Regions from separate parts of the Homo sapiens genome. Here region 1 is linked to region 2. The links are contacts of gene promoters, found by promoter capture Hi-C in human tissues and cell types (Jung and others, 2019). All regions are on one chromosome and are shown on one strand. The core of a region is centred on a gene start or on the middle of the fragment in contact, and the rest is flanking DNA. Distances in the headings are between cores, read along the strand shown.

Evidence for each region. Contacts are between HindIII fragments. The study calls those that stand out against the background at their distance.
Region 1: the fragment with the promoter of NOL9 here is called in contact with a fragment that was not itself captured in region 2 in 1 of the 25 tissues and cell types used here (spleen).

What each region holds. Positions count from the first base shown.
Region 1 is chr1:6,551,241-6,556,576 of GRCh38, reverse strand. It overlaps NOL9 (nucleolar protein 9), which reads left to right and starts at 2,064. Exons shown (of 12, transcript NM_024654.5): 1 at 2,064-2,470. The coding sequence starts at 2,075. It overlaps TAS1R1 (taste 1 receptor member 1), which reads right to left and starts at 1,270. Exons shown (of 6, transcript NM_138697.4): 1 at 1,013-1,270. The coding sequence starts at 1,203. RefSeq lists a silencer at 2,099-2,358 and an enhancer at 3,753-4,253. The HindIII fragment of the contact is 18,414 bases long and covers 1-5,336 here.
Region 2 is chr1:6,362,538-6,368,437 of GRCh38, reverse strand. All of the region lies in intron 1 of ACOT7 (acyl-CoA thioesterase 7), which reads left to right. Among named protein-coding and RNA genes, the nearest start is that of ACOT7, 28 kb to the left of the region's middle. RefSeq lists enhancers at 1-719, 3,392-3,891. The HindIII fragment of the contact is 3,740 bases long and covers 557-4,296 here.

The DNA.
Region 1 (5,336 bases), core at 815-3,314, 190 kb before region 2:
ATACAAAAATTAGCTGGGTATGGTGACACATGCCTATAATTCCAGCTACTCCCGAGGCTAAGGCATGAGAATCACTTGAGCCCAGGAGGAGGAGGTTGCAGTGAGTCAAGATTATGCCACTGCACTCCAGCCTGGATGACAGACTGAGTCTCCATCTCAAAAAAATATAGATAGATAGATAGATAGATAGAAATAAAAGAAAAGCAGTAGTTTCCCTCTACCTAGATTGTTGACTTCATGATGGCACCAACCTAATTTATATTTGTCAAGCTCCTAAAGCATCTAATGGGATGTGTCTTCCCTTCCCACCCCATGAAGAACCATGGAGAATCCTACTTGTCATCTGGGACTCTAGGGAACTTTGAACATGGGTAGGAGTGGAGAGAAGATAGAAGAGGGAAAAAGCGGCTGGGCGCGGTGGCTCACGCCTGTAATCCCAGCACTTTGGGAGGCCGAGGTGGGCAGATCACGAGGTCAGGAGATCGAGACCATTCTGGCTAACACGGTGAAACCCCGTCTCTACTAAAAATACAAAACATTAGCTGGGCGCAGTGGCGGGTGCCTGTAGTCCCAGCTACTCGGGAGGCTGAGGCAGGAGAATGGCGTGAACCCGGAAGGCGGAGCTTGCAGTGAGCTGAGATCGCGCCACTGCAGTCCCACCTGGGTGAAAGAGCGAGACTCCGTCTCAAAAAAAAAAAAAAAAAAAAAAAGAAGAGGGAAAAAGCTGCCCTTGCTTAGGCCTGGCCACCTAGGTATGGTACAAAGCCAAGAACCAATTTCAATGAAGTTACAATACAACACATTCTAACAGCAAGGGTGAAATAATTGGAAACTGGCCGAAGTGTCTAGGAAGGTCTAGCCAGCACTTAGGTGGCAAGTGGATTGATGAACAAGGCCTGGGGACAGTTCAAGGGGCAAAGGCAGAGGCAAGGTCCTGTTTGGAGGATGGCAGCCAGAGGGGCCCTATAGCCAGGGGTCCCACTAAGTGTGGCTCTGCTGGCCCCTCACTCACCTGTCACACAGGGTCACCTCGGGTCTGTGCCTCACCTGCAGACAGCCAGAATGGAGAGGGAACAGGCCTGCCAGGAGGTAATCTCCGGGGAGGGTGAAGTCAGGAGAAGACTCCGTGCTATGGCAGGCAAAGGCCCAGCAGCAGGAAATGAGAAGCTGCAGGCCGACCAGGCGAGCCGTGCAGAGCAGCATGCTGGCCAGATGCCCGCGCCTGGCATGGCCAAGGAGTGGCCTCTAAGGAGGCCAGTTGCTTAAATAGAAGGCAGCTGCCGGATGCTTCCTAACTTCAGGCCCCCAAAAGGGGTGGGACTGGAGCCCAGTGGCTGAAGCAGGACTGTTTGCCTTGACATTCCGGGCCTGCGGTCCCACTCAGGAACTGGGCAGGACGAAGGCACAGATGCAAACCAGGTGGCACCCAGTGACCCTTCCTCTGGACGGTTGTGGGTTCTGTCCACGCTCTGTGACTTCACCTGGCTTAGAAAAGGAGCTCTGGCATTTTGGGGCGAGGTGGGAGGCTGGAACACAATTTCTCCGGGTGTTGCGAGGTTTCAGAACTTTTTACCTGGGCCTCAGTTTACTAAATGAGACACAGCTTTGAGTCGACACCCCCCTGCCCCAGTCTCCAGTTTTCTGACATTAAGATTCTGAGCAAATTGTCATATACTTTCGCCTTGTTACCCAGGGTTGCTCACTTCGAAACAAATGCATGCAAACCGAAGGTATGCAAATAGACATGTTTTGTTTAAACTGCCAATCCTAAAGCTTTTTCTGCAGGAGAAAAAAAATATCCCGGTGTTTTTCCGGAGAGGTGGCCCATGGCTGGTCGCGAGGTTTCTGGCTTTCTCTCTCCGGCCGGCTGGGGTAGGGAATTTGCGTAACGTAAATGGAGTCCTCCGTGGAGCCCCTCGACCAGATCGGCTGGAACCTCCTAGTGTGCTTCCGGAGGTTGCCGGCAGAGGGCGCCGGCGGCTCGGAGGCCCCTCTTTTCGGCAGCTGGGAGGGCAGCGGGGCGGACCGACGGGATCTCGCGAGATTCTCGCGCGGTAGGCCCTGAGGACCCAGCATGGCGGACTCGGGACTGCTGCTAAAGCGGGGTTCCTGCCGTTCCACTTGGCTGCGGGTCCGCAAGGCCCGGCCCCAGCTCATCCTCAGCCGCCGGCCCCGCCGCCGGCTCGGGAGCCTGCGCTGGTGCGGTCGGCGGCGCCTACGGTGGCGGTTACTGCAAGCCCAGGCGTCCGGCGTGGACTGGAGGGAGGGAGCCCGCCAGGTGTCGCGCGCGGCGGCGGCCCGGAGACCCAACACCGCGACCCCCAGCCCGATCCCTAGCCCGACCCCGGCCTCCGAACCCGAGTCCGAACCCGAACTCGAATCCGCCTCGAGTTGCCACCGGCCTCTCCTCATCCCACCGGTGCGGCCCGTGGGCCCCGGCCGCGCGTTGCTGCTGCTGCCGGTCGAGCAGGTAGGTGGGGGGCGCCGGTAGTAGTCCCCGAGGGCAGGGAGGGCTGGAGAGGCAGCCCCGGGAGAGCTGCAGGGTAGGAGAGGACCGTGGTCCCCCGGGCCTGTTCTCTGGCTGCCAGTCGGATTCAAGTCCATCCTCTTGATGGTTGGTGGCAACTAGGCTCCCCTGAGCAGCAGGGTAACAGGTACCCTGCTAAGGGGTCCCTAGGCCTTACGAGCTAAAGGGACTTTATTTTGTTTTGTTTTCTTTCTTTCTTTTTCTTTTTGAGACAGAGTCTCACTCTGTCCCCCAGGCTGGAGTGCAGTGGCACAATCTCGGCTCACTGCAACCTCCGCATCCCGGGTTGAAGCGATTCCCCTGCCTCAGCCTCCGGAGTAGTTGGGACTACAGGCGCGTGCCACCTCGCCCGGCTATATTTTTTGTATTTTTAGTAGAAACGGGGTTTCGCCATGTTAGCCAGGATAGTCTCGATCTCCTGACCTTGTGATCCACCCGCCTCGGCCTCTCAAAGTGCTGGGATTACAGGTGTGAACCACCGCACCTGGAACTCTGAAAGGGATTTTAATAGTTAAAAAAAAAAAAGGTTGCAATTACTGAGAGCTCAGAAATTCCAGGATTTAAGGGTTCCAAAAGTGTTTTAGGCTTTGAACCCATTTAAACATCCAGCTCTCTTACGGAGTAGTTGTCCCTCTCTCTAAGTGTTTACAGACGAGGAGACTGAGGTTGGGTAACTTACACAGTAGAGGGAGAGCTAGGAGTCGAACTCAGGCAGCCTGATTCTTAACGTGGATGCCATTCCTGGAGATTCCCTGTCTAATGCAGGAGGGAAGGCAAAACCCAGGAAGTTCTGGAAGAGACTTGGCAAGCTGTGGGTCTTTAAAAGGACAGAGTGGTAGAGTCTGTCTGAACCAGGAGCACAGAGCCGAGTTCACGGTCACCATGCTTTCTCTGTAGCTGCCATGGGGTATGATCTTAGTTTAAAAATATAAAGTATGGGCCAGGCGCGGTGGCTCAGGCCTGTAGTCCCGGCACTTTGGGAAGCCGAAGCTGGCAGATCATCTGAGGTCAGGAGTTTGAGACCAGCCTGACCAACATGGTGAAACCTCATCTCTACTAAAAATACAAAAATTAGCTGGGCATGGTAGCACACGCCTGTAATCCCAGCTACTCAGGAGGCTAAGGCAGGAGACTTGCTTGAACCCGGGAGCTGGAGGTTGCAGTGAGCCAAGATCACGCCATTGCACTCCAGCCTGGGCGACAGAGTGAGACTCCGTCTCGAAAGAAAGGAAGAAAGGAAGGAGGGAGGGGAAAAGAAAGAAAGGAAAAGGAAAAGAGAGAGCTGGGCACAGTGGCTCACGCCTGTAATCCCAGCACTTTTGGAGGCTGAGGTGGGTGGATCACCTGAGGTAGCGAGTTCGAGACCAGCCTGGCCAATATGGCGAAACCCTGTCTAGTGGCTCACGCCTGTAATCCCAGCACTTTTGGAGGCCTAGGTGGGCGGATCACCTGAGGTCAGGAGTTTGAGATGTGGTGGCACACGCCTGTAATCCCAGCTACTCTGGAGGCAGAGGCAGGAGAATTGCTTTAACCTGGGAGGTGGAGGTTGTGGTAAGCTGATACTGTCCCAAAAATAAATAAATAAATAAAAATTAAATAAAATTAAAAAATTTAAAAGGCTGCAGCCATAAAAAGGGATGAGATCATGTCCTTTGCAGGGACTTGGATGGAGCTGGAAGCCGTTATCTTCAGCAAACTAATTCAGGTACAGAAAATCAAATATCGGCCGGGTGTGGTGGCTCACGCCTGTAATCCCAGCACTTTTAAGTTCCAGGGTACATACGCAGGGTGTGCAGATTTATTACGTAGTTAAATGGGTGCCTTGGTGGTTTGCTGCACAGATCAACACATCACCTATGTATTAAGCCCAGCATCCATTCTTCCTGACGCCCTTCCCCAGACCCCCACAGGCTCCAGTGTATGTTGTTACCCACCATGTATCCATGTGTTCTCATGGTTCAAATCCCACTGATAAGTGAGAACATACCATATTTTGATTTTCTTTCTTTTTTTTTGAGATGGAGTCTCGCTCTGTTGCCCAGGCTGGAGTGCAGTGGCGCAATCTGGGCTCACTGCAAGCTCCGCCTCCCGGGTTCACGCCATTCTCCTGCCTCAGCCTCCCGAGTAGTTGGGACTACAGGTGCCCGCCACCACACCTGGCTAAGTTTTTTGTATTTTTTTTAGTAGAGACGGGGTTTCACCGTGTTAGCCTGGATGGTCTTGATCTCCTGACCTTGTGATCCACCCGCCTCGGCCTCCCAAAGTGCTGGGATTACAGGCGTGAGCCACCACACCCGGCCGATATTTGATTTTCTGTACCTGAATTAGTTTGCTGAAGATAACGGCTTCCAGCTCCATCCAAGTCCCTGCAAAGGACATGATCTCATCCCTTTTTATGGCTGCAGCCTTTTAAATTTTTTAATTTTATTTAATTTTTATTTATTTATTTATTTTTGGGACAGTATCACTGTCGCCCAGGCTGCAGTGTACTGGCATGATCTCAGCTCACTGCAGCCTTTGCCTCTGGATTCAAGCGATTCTCATGCCTCAGCCTCTGGAGTAGCTGGGATTACAGGCACATGCCCAGCTAATTTTTGTAATTTTAGTAGAGATGGTGGTGGCGGGGGTGGGGTGCAGGGGGGTTTGCCATGTTATCCAGGCTGGTCTCAAACTCCTGGCCTCACTCAAGTGATCCCCCCACCTCCTTCTCCCAGAGTTCTGGGATTACTGGCGTGAGCCACCGTGCCTGGCCCAATACTTATTACTGATGGAGTGGAGTGGTGTAATTACGGTTCACAGCAGCCTCTAC
Region 2 (5,900 bases), core at 1,177-3,676:
GGATGCAGAGCTTGGGTTATGCTTCAGGGCCCTGGGGCGGGAAGTGGGAGCGGCATTCACTTTGGGGACCTGGACTGCGGTGCAGCCACCGCACCCACCCTGCTGATGGTGCCCTTCAGACTTTGGGCACCAACAGGCATGGGAGGGAGGCCAAGTGGGGGCTGAGGATAGGCTGGCACAAACAGCCTGGATGCCATGAACAGTGGCGAGAGACAGACAGGCTCCTGGGTAGAAGGGGTCTGGTCCCCAGTGAAGCCTCACCTTCAAACTGGGGAGGGCCTGAAGCCTGGGGGTTGGCTGGCCAGTCCCGAGGACCAGAGGGGAAGCTTGTGGTGCTTTTTGCTGGCCCACCCATGGACCAGTCAACACACACTTCCTCCACTCTGAGGCCCATAAAAACCCCGGACTCAGCCAGACTAGAGCAGAGGACAGAAAGATGACAGGATGACCAGCTGCAAAGAAGAGCTACCCTCTCTGCTGAGAGCTGAACACTCACTGGGATGACCTGGCTGTGACTCAATAAAGCTCCTCTTTGTCTTGCTCACTCTCCATTTTTCTGCGTACCTCATTCTTCCTGGTCACAGGGCAAGAACTCGGGACCTGCCAAATGGTGAGGCTGAAAGAACTGTAACACAAACAGGGCTGAAACATGCCCCTTCTTGCCACGTTGCCAGTGAAGGGAAGGAAAGAAGAGCTGTGGCCCTTTGGGGAGTCCAGACCTGGGAGCTCCCTGAGTCAGGGTTGTGACTCCCTCTTTGGGGCCCTGCAGTTCCTGGCGTCACCAAGCTTCCAGGCACCACAGCATTCCCGTGTGCCAACCAGGCAAGCTGCTTGAGGTGCGCTTGGTCCAGGTGCAGCCTTGCAGAGAACCAGCACCTGTGCCAGCATCTGGAGCTGCCTGCCCTGCAGCAGCAGCTGGCATGTCTGACTGTGCAGTGGCCGTACTCCATGCTCACTCACACACTGCTCGCTGCTCCACACCAGGCTTGTCCTTGGCAGGCATGGGAGCTCCAGGCTGGTAGCATGAGCCAAGCGCAGCCTGCCAGGCTGAGTGGGTGGAATAAGCCCAGTGGGCCCCAGCAAAACTTAGGCAAAGGTGCCACAAGACACAGAGGTTTCTGGCCAGAAAAGGGATACCCCAAAGATCCCATAACAAAAGGATTTAGAATATTCCATAAACTTAGTTGATAAAACAACATAGGTTTTAAGAGGACTGACTCCACTTTTTTTTTTTTTTTTGAAATGGAGTCTCGCTCTGTCGCCCAGGCTGGAGTGCAGTGGTGCGATCTCAGCTCACTGCAAGCTCTGCCTTCTGGGTTCACGCAATTCTCTTGCCTCAGCCTCCCGAGTAGCTGGGACTACAGGTGCCTGCCACCATGCCCAGCTAATTTTTTTATATTTTTAGTAGAGAAGGGGTTTCACCATGTTAGCCATCATGGTCTCCATCTCCTGACCTCGTGATCCGCCTGCCTCGGCCTCCCAAAGTGCTGGGATTACAGGCATGAGCCACCGCGCCCGGCCTGACTCCACTTTTGAAAGTTCTACTGGGCTGGTCTAGGAGATCGAGACCATCTTGGCTGACATGTTCTCCCCATCTCTACTAAAATACAAAAAATTAGCCTGGTGTGGTGGTGCACACCTGTAGTCCCAGCTACTCAGGAGGCTGAGCCAGGGGAATCACTTGAACTCGGGAGACGGAGGTTGCAGTGAGCCGAGATCATGCCACTGTACTCCAGCCTGGCTGACAGAGTGAGACTCTGTCTCAAAAAAAAAAAAAAGTAAGTTCTACTGTGGGTAAAATGCTATCAAACATTGCATGCTACAGAGAAATCTTTTTTTTTTTTTTTATTTGAGATAGGCTCCCACTCTGTCACCCGGGCTGGAGTGCAGTGGTGCAATCACAGCTCACTGCAGCTTTGACCTCTTGAGCTGAAGGGATCCTCCCACCCTTAGCCTCTCAAGTAACTGGGACCACAGGCAAGTGCCACCATGAGTAGCTAATTTTTTAATTTTTATTTTTAGAGACAGCATCTCCTTATATTGCCCAGGCTGGTCTGGAACTCCTGGGCACAAGCGATTCTCCCACCTCGGGGTCCCAAAGTGCTGGGATTACAGACATGAGCCACCGTGCCTGGCCCAGAGAAATATTTTGTGGAAAGAAGGGTCAATTGATGTGGTCAATGTCATTGTTGTCTTATTTTAAGGAACTGCCACAGCCATCCCAGCCTTCAGCAGTCGCCATCCTAATCAGTCTGCAGGCCGGGCGGTAATCCCAGCACTTTGGGAGGCTGAGGTGGGCGGATCACCTGAGGTCAGGAGTTCAAGACCAGCATGGCCAACATAGTGAGACCCTGTCTCTACTAAAAATACAAAAAATTAGCTGGGCGTGGTGACGCGTGCCTGTAATCCTAGCTACTTGGGAGGCTGAGGTAGGAGAACCACTTGAACCCGGGAGGCAGAGGTTGCAGTGAGCCAAGATCGTGCCACTGCATTCCAGCCTGGGCTATAGAATGAGACTGTCTCAAAAAAAAAAAATAAACCCCAAAACAATATGAATCAGTCTGCAGCCATCAACATCGAGGCAAGACTCTGCCAGCAAAAAGAATACCACTCACTGAAGGCTCAGATGATTGTTAGCATTTTTTAGCAATAAATTTTTTTTTTTTTTTTGAGATGGGGTCTTGCTCTGTTGCCCAGGCTGGAGTGCAGTGGTGCGATCTCGGCTCACTGCAAGCTCCGCCTCCCGGGTTTACGCCATTCTTCTGCCTCAGCCTCCCGAGTAGCTGGGACTACAGGCGCCCACTACCATGCCGGGCTAATTTTTTGTTTTTTAGTAGAGATGGGGTTTCACCGTGTTAGCCAGGATGGTCTCGATCTCCTGACCTTGTGATCCACCCACCTTGGCCTCCCAAAGTGCTGGGATTACAGGTGTGAGCCACCATGCCCGATTGCAATAAAGTGTTTTTAAATGAAGGTATATACTTTTTTTTAAGGCATAATGCTATTATACACTTAATAGACTACAGTGTAACTTTTACGTGCACTGGGAAACCAAAAAAATCATGTGACTTATTATAAAGTGCAATGTGTGCTTTGTTGCGGTGATCTGGAACCAAACCCGTAATATCTCTGAGGTATGCCTGTGTGAGCCTGTGAAGCCTTCACCACAATCAAGACCGAGACTGTGAACAGACCTGTCACCCTGCTGAGGCCCTCTGCTTCTCTGGTCCCTCCCTGCCCCCAGGCAACCTCTGATCTGCTTTCTGTCACTATAGTTTGTGTTTCCTCCAAGTTTATAAACATGGACTTGCACAGTTCTCTTTTTGTCCAGCCTCCCTTGCTCAGCACGATTACTTGGAGATTCATCCACATGGTTGCATGTATCAGTTATTCATTCCTTTCCTTTTTTTTTTTGAGACGGAGTCTCACTCTTGTTGCTCAGGCTGGAGTGCAGTGGGGCGATCTCAGCTCACTGCAACCTCTGCCTCCCGGGTTTAAGCGATTCTGCTTCCTCAGCCTCCTGAGTACCTGGGATTACAGGCTCCCACCACCATGCCTGGCTAATTTTTTTTTTTTTTTTTTTTTTTTTTTGAGATGGAGTCTCGCTCTGTCCCCAGGCCGGAGTGCAGTGGCGTGATCTTGGCTCACTGCAACCTCCGCCTCCCGGGTTCAAGTGATTCTCCTGCCTCAGCCTCCCGAGTAGCTGGGACTACAGGTGAGCGCAACCACGCCCAACTAATTTTTGTATTTTTAGTAGGGATGAGGTTTCACCATGTTGGCCAGGATAGTCTCGATTTCTTGACCTCGTGATCTGCCCACCTCGGCCTCCCAAAGTGCTGGGATTACAGGCGTGAGCCACTGCGCCAGGCCAAATGCTGGGCTTTTTTTTTTTTTTGAGACAGAGTCTCTTGCTCTGTCACCCTGGCTGGAGTGCAATGGCATGATCTTGGCTCACTGCAACTTCTGCCTCCCGGCTTCAAGGGATTCTCCTGCCTCAGCCTCCCGAGTAGCTGGGATTACATGCATGCACCATCACGCCCAGCTAATTTTGTATTTTTAGTAGAGATGGGGTTTTTCCATGTTGGTCAGGCTGGTCTTGAACGCCCGACCTCAGGTGATCCACCTGCCTTGGCCTCCCAAAGTGCTGGGATTACAGGTGTGAGCCACCACACCTCGCCGATAATTGCTTTTAGATGTTACTTTTGTATTTTCCTAATGTCTAATGATGTTGAATATCTTTTCTTTTTTTCTAGAGGTGGAGTCTCGTCTTGTTGCCCAGGCCGGCCTGGAATTCCTGGGCTCAAGTGATCCTCCTGCCTCAGCCTCCCAAAGTGGTGGGATTACAGGTGTGAGTCACTGCATCTAGCCTTTTTTGAGACAAGGTCTCGCTCTGTCATCCAGGCTGGAATTCAATCTTGGCCCACTGCAGCCTTGACCTCCCAGCTCAAGTGATCCTACCACCTCAGCCCCCTGAGTAGCTGGGACCACAGGTGCAGCTGGGACCCCCTGAGTAGCTGGGACCACAGAAAACCCACAGGGTCGGTGGCTTTTCTCCCCATGTGGGGAGATGAGAGATTGTAGAAATAAAGACACAAGACAAAGAGATAAAAGACAGCTGGGCCCGGGGGACAACTACCACCAAGATGCAGAGACCGGTAGTGTCCCCGAATGCCTGGCTGTGCTGTTATTTATTGGATACAAGGCAAAAGGGGAGGGGTAAAGAGTGTGAATCATCTCCAATGATAGGTAAGGTCACGTGGGTCACATGTGCACTGGACAGGGGGCCCTTCCCTGCCTGGCAGCCAAGGCAGAGAGAGAGGGAGAGAGAGAGAGACAGCTTACGCCATTATTTCTGCATATCAGGGACTTTTAGTACTTTCACTAATTTGCTACTGTTATCTAAAAGGCAGAGCCAGGTGTGCAGGATGGAACATGAAAGTGGACTAGGAGCGTGACCACTGAAGCACAGCATCACAGGGAGACAGGCCTCCGGATAACTGCGGGCAGGCCTGACTGATGTCAGGCCCTCCACAAGAGGTGGAGGAGTAGTCTTCTCTAAACTCCCCGGGGGAAAGGGAGACTCCCTTTCCTGGTCTGCTAAGTGGCGGGTGTTTTTCTTTGGCACTGACGCTACTGCTGGAACCACGGTCTGCCTGGCAACGGGCGTCTTCCCAGACGCTGGCGTTACCGCTAGACCAAGGAGCCCTCTGGTGGCCCTGTCCGGGCATAACAGAAGGCTCGCACTTGTCTTCTGGTCACTTCTCACCATGTCCCCTCAGCTCCCATCTCTGTATAGCCTGGTTTTTCCTAGGTTATGATTATAGAGCGAGGATTATTATAATATTGGAATAAAGAGTAATTGCTACAAATTAATGATTAATGATATTCATATATAATCACGTCTATGATCTAGATCTAGTATAATTCTTACTGTTTTATATATTTTATTATACTGGAAAAGCTCATGCCCTTGGTCTCTTGCCTCGGCACCTGGATGGCTTGCCACCCGCAGTGCTCACCACCATGCTCGGCTAATTTTTTTGGATTTTTGGTAGAGATGGGGTCTCACCATGTTGCCTAGAAGAGTCTCCAGCTCCTGAGCTCTAGCCATCTGCCCACCTCAGCCTCCCAAAGTGCTGGGATTACAGGCGTGCACGACCGCGCCTAGCCAAAGGTCATTTGTTTTTTTCACATTGAGCTCTGAGAGATCTTTCTGGAGCCTGGATGTAAGTTTCTGACCCTACCAGCTTCCTCTAGCATGAGGCAGTGAGTTTCGGTTGGGGAGAGGGATGTGGCCTCCCATTCTAGGGCATGTCGTTGCGGAGTTCTCCTTGAATTCTCTCTTCCGAGTGCCCTCTGATGAGCTGGGCTCAGTGTGCTTTTGAGTTCTAGGTGCCTGT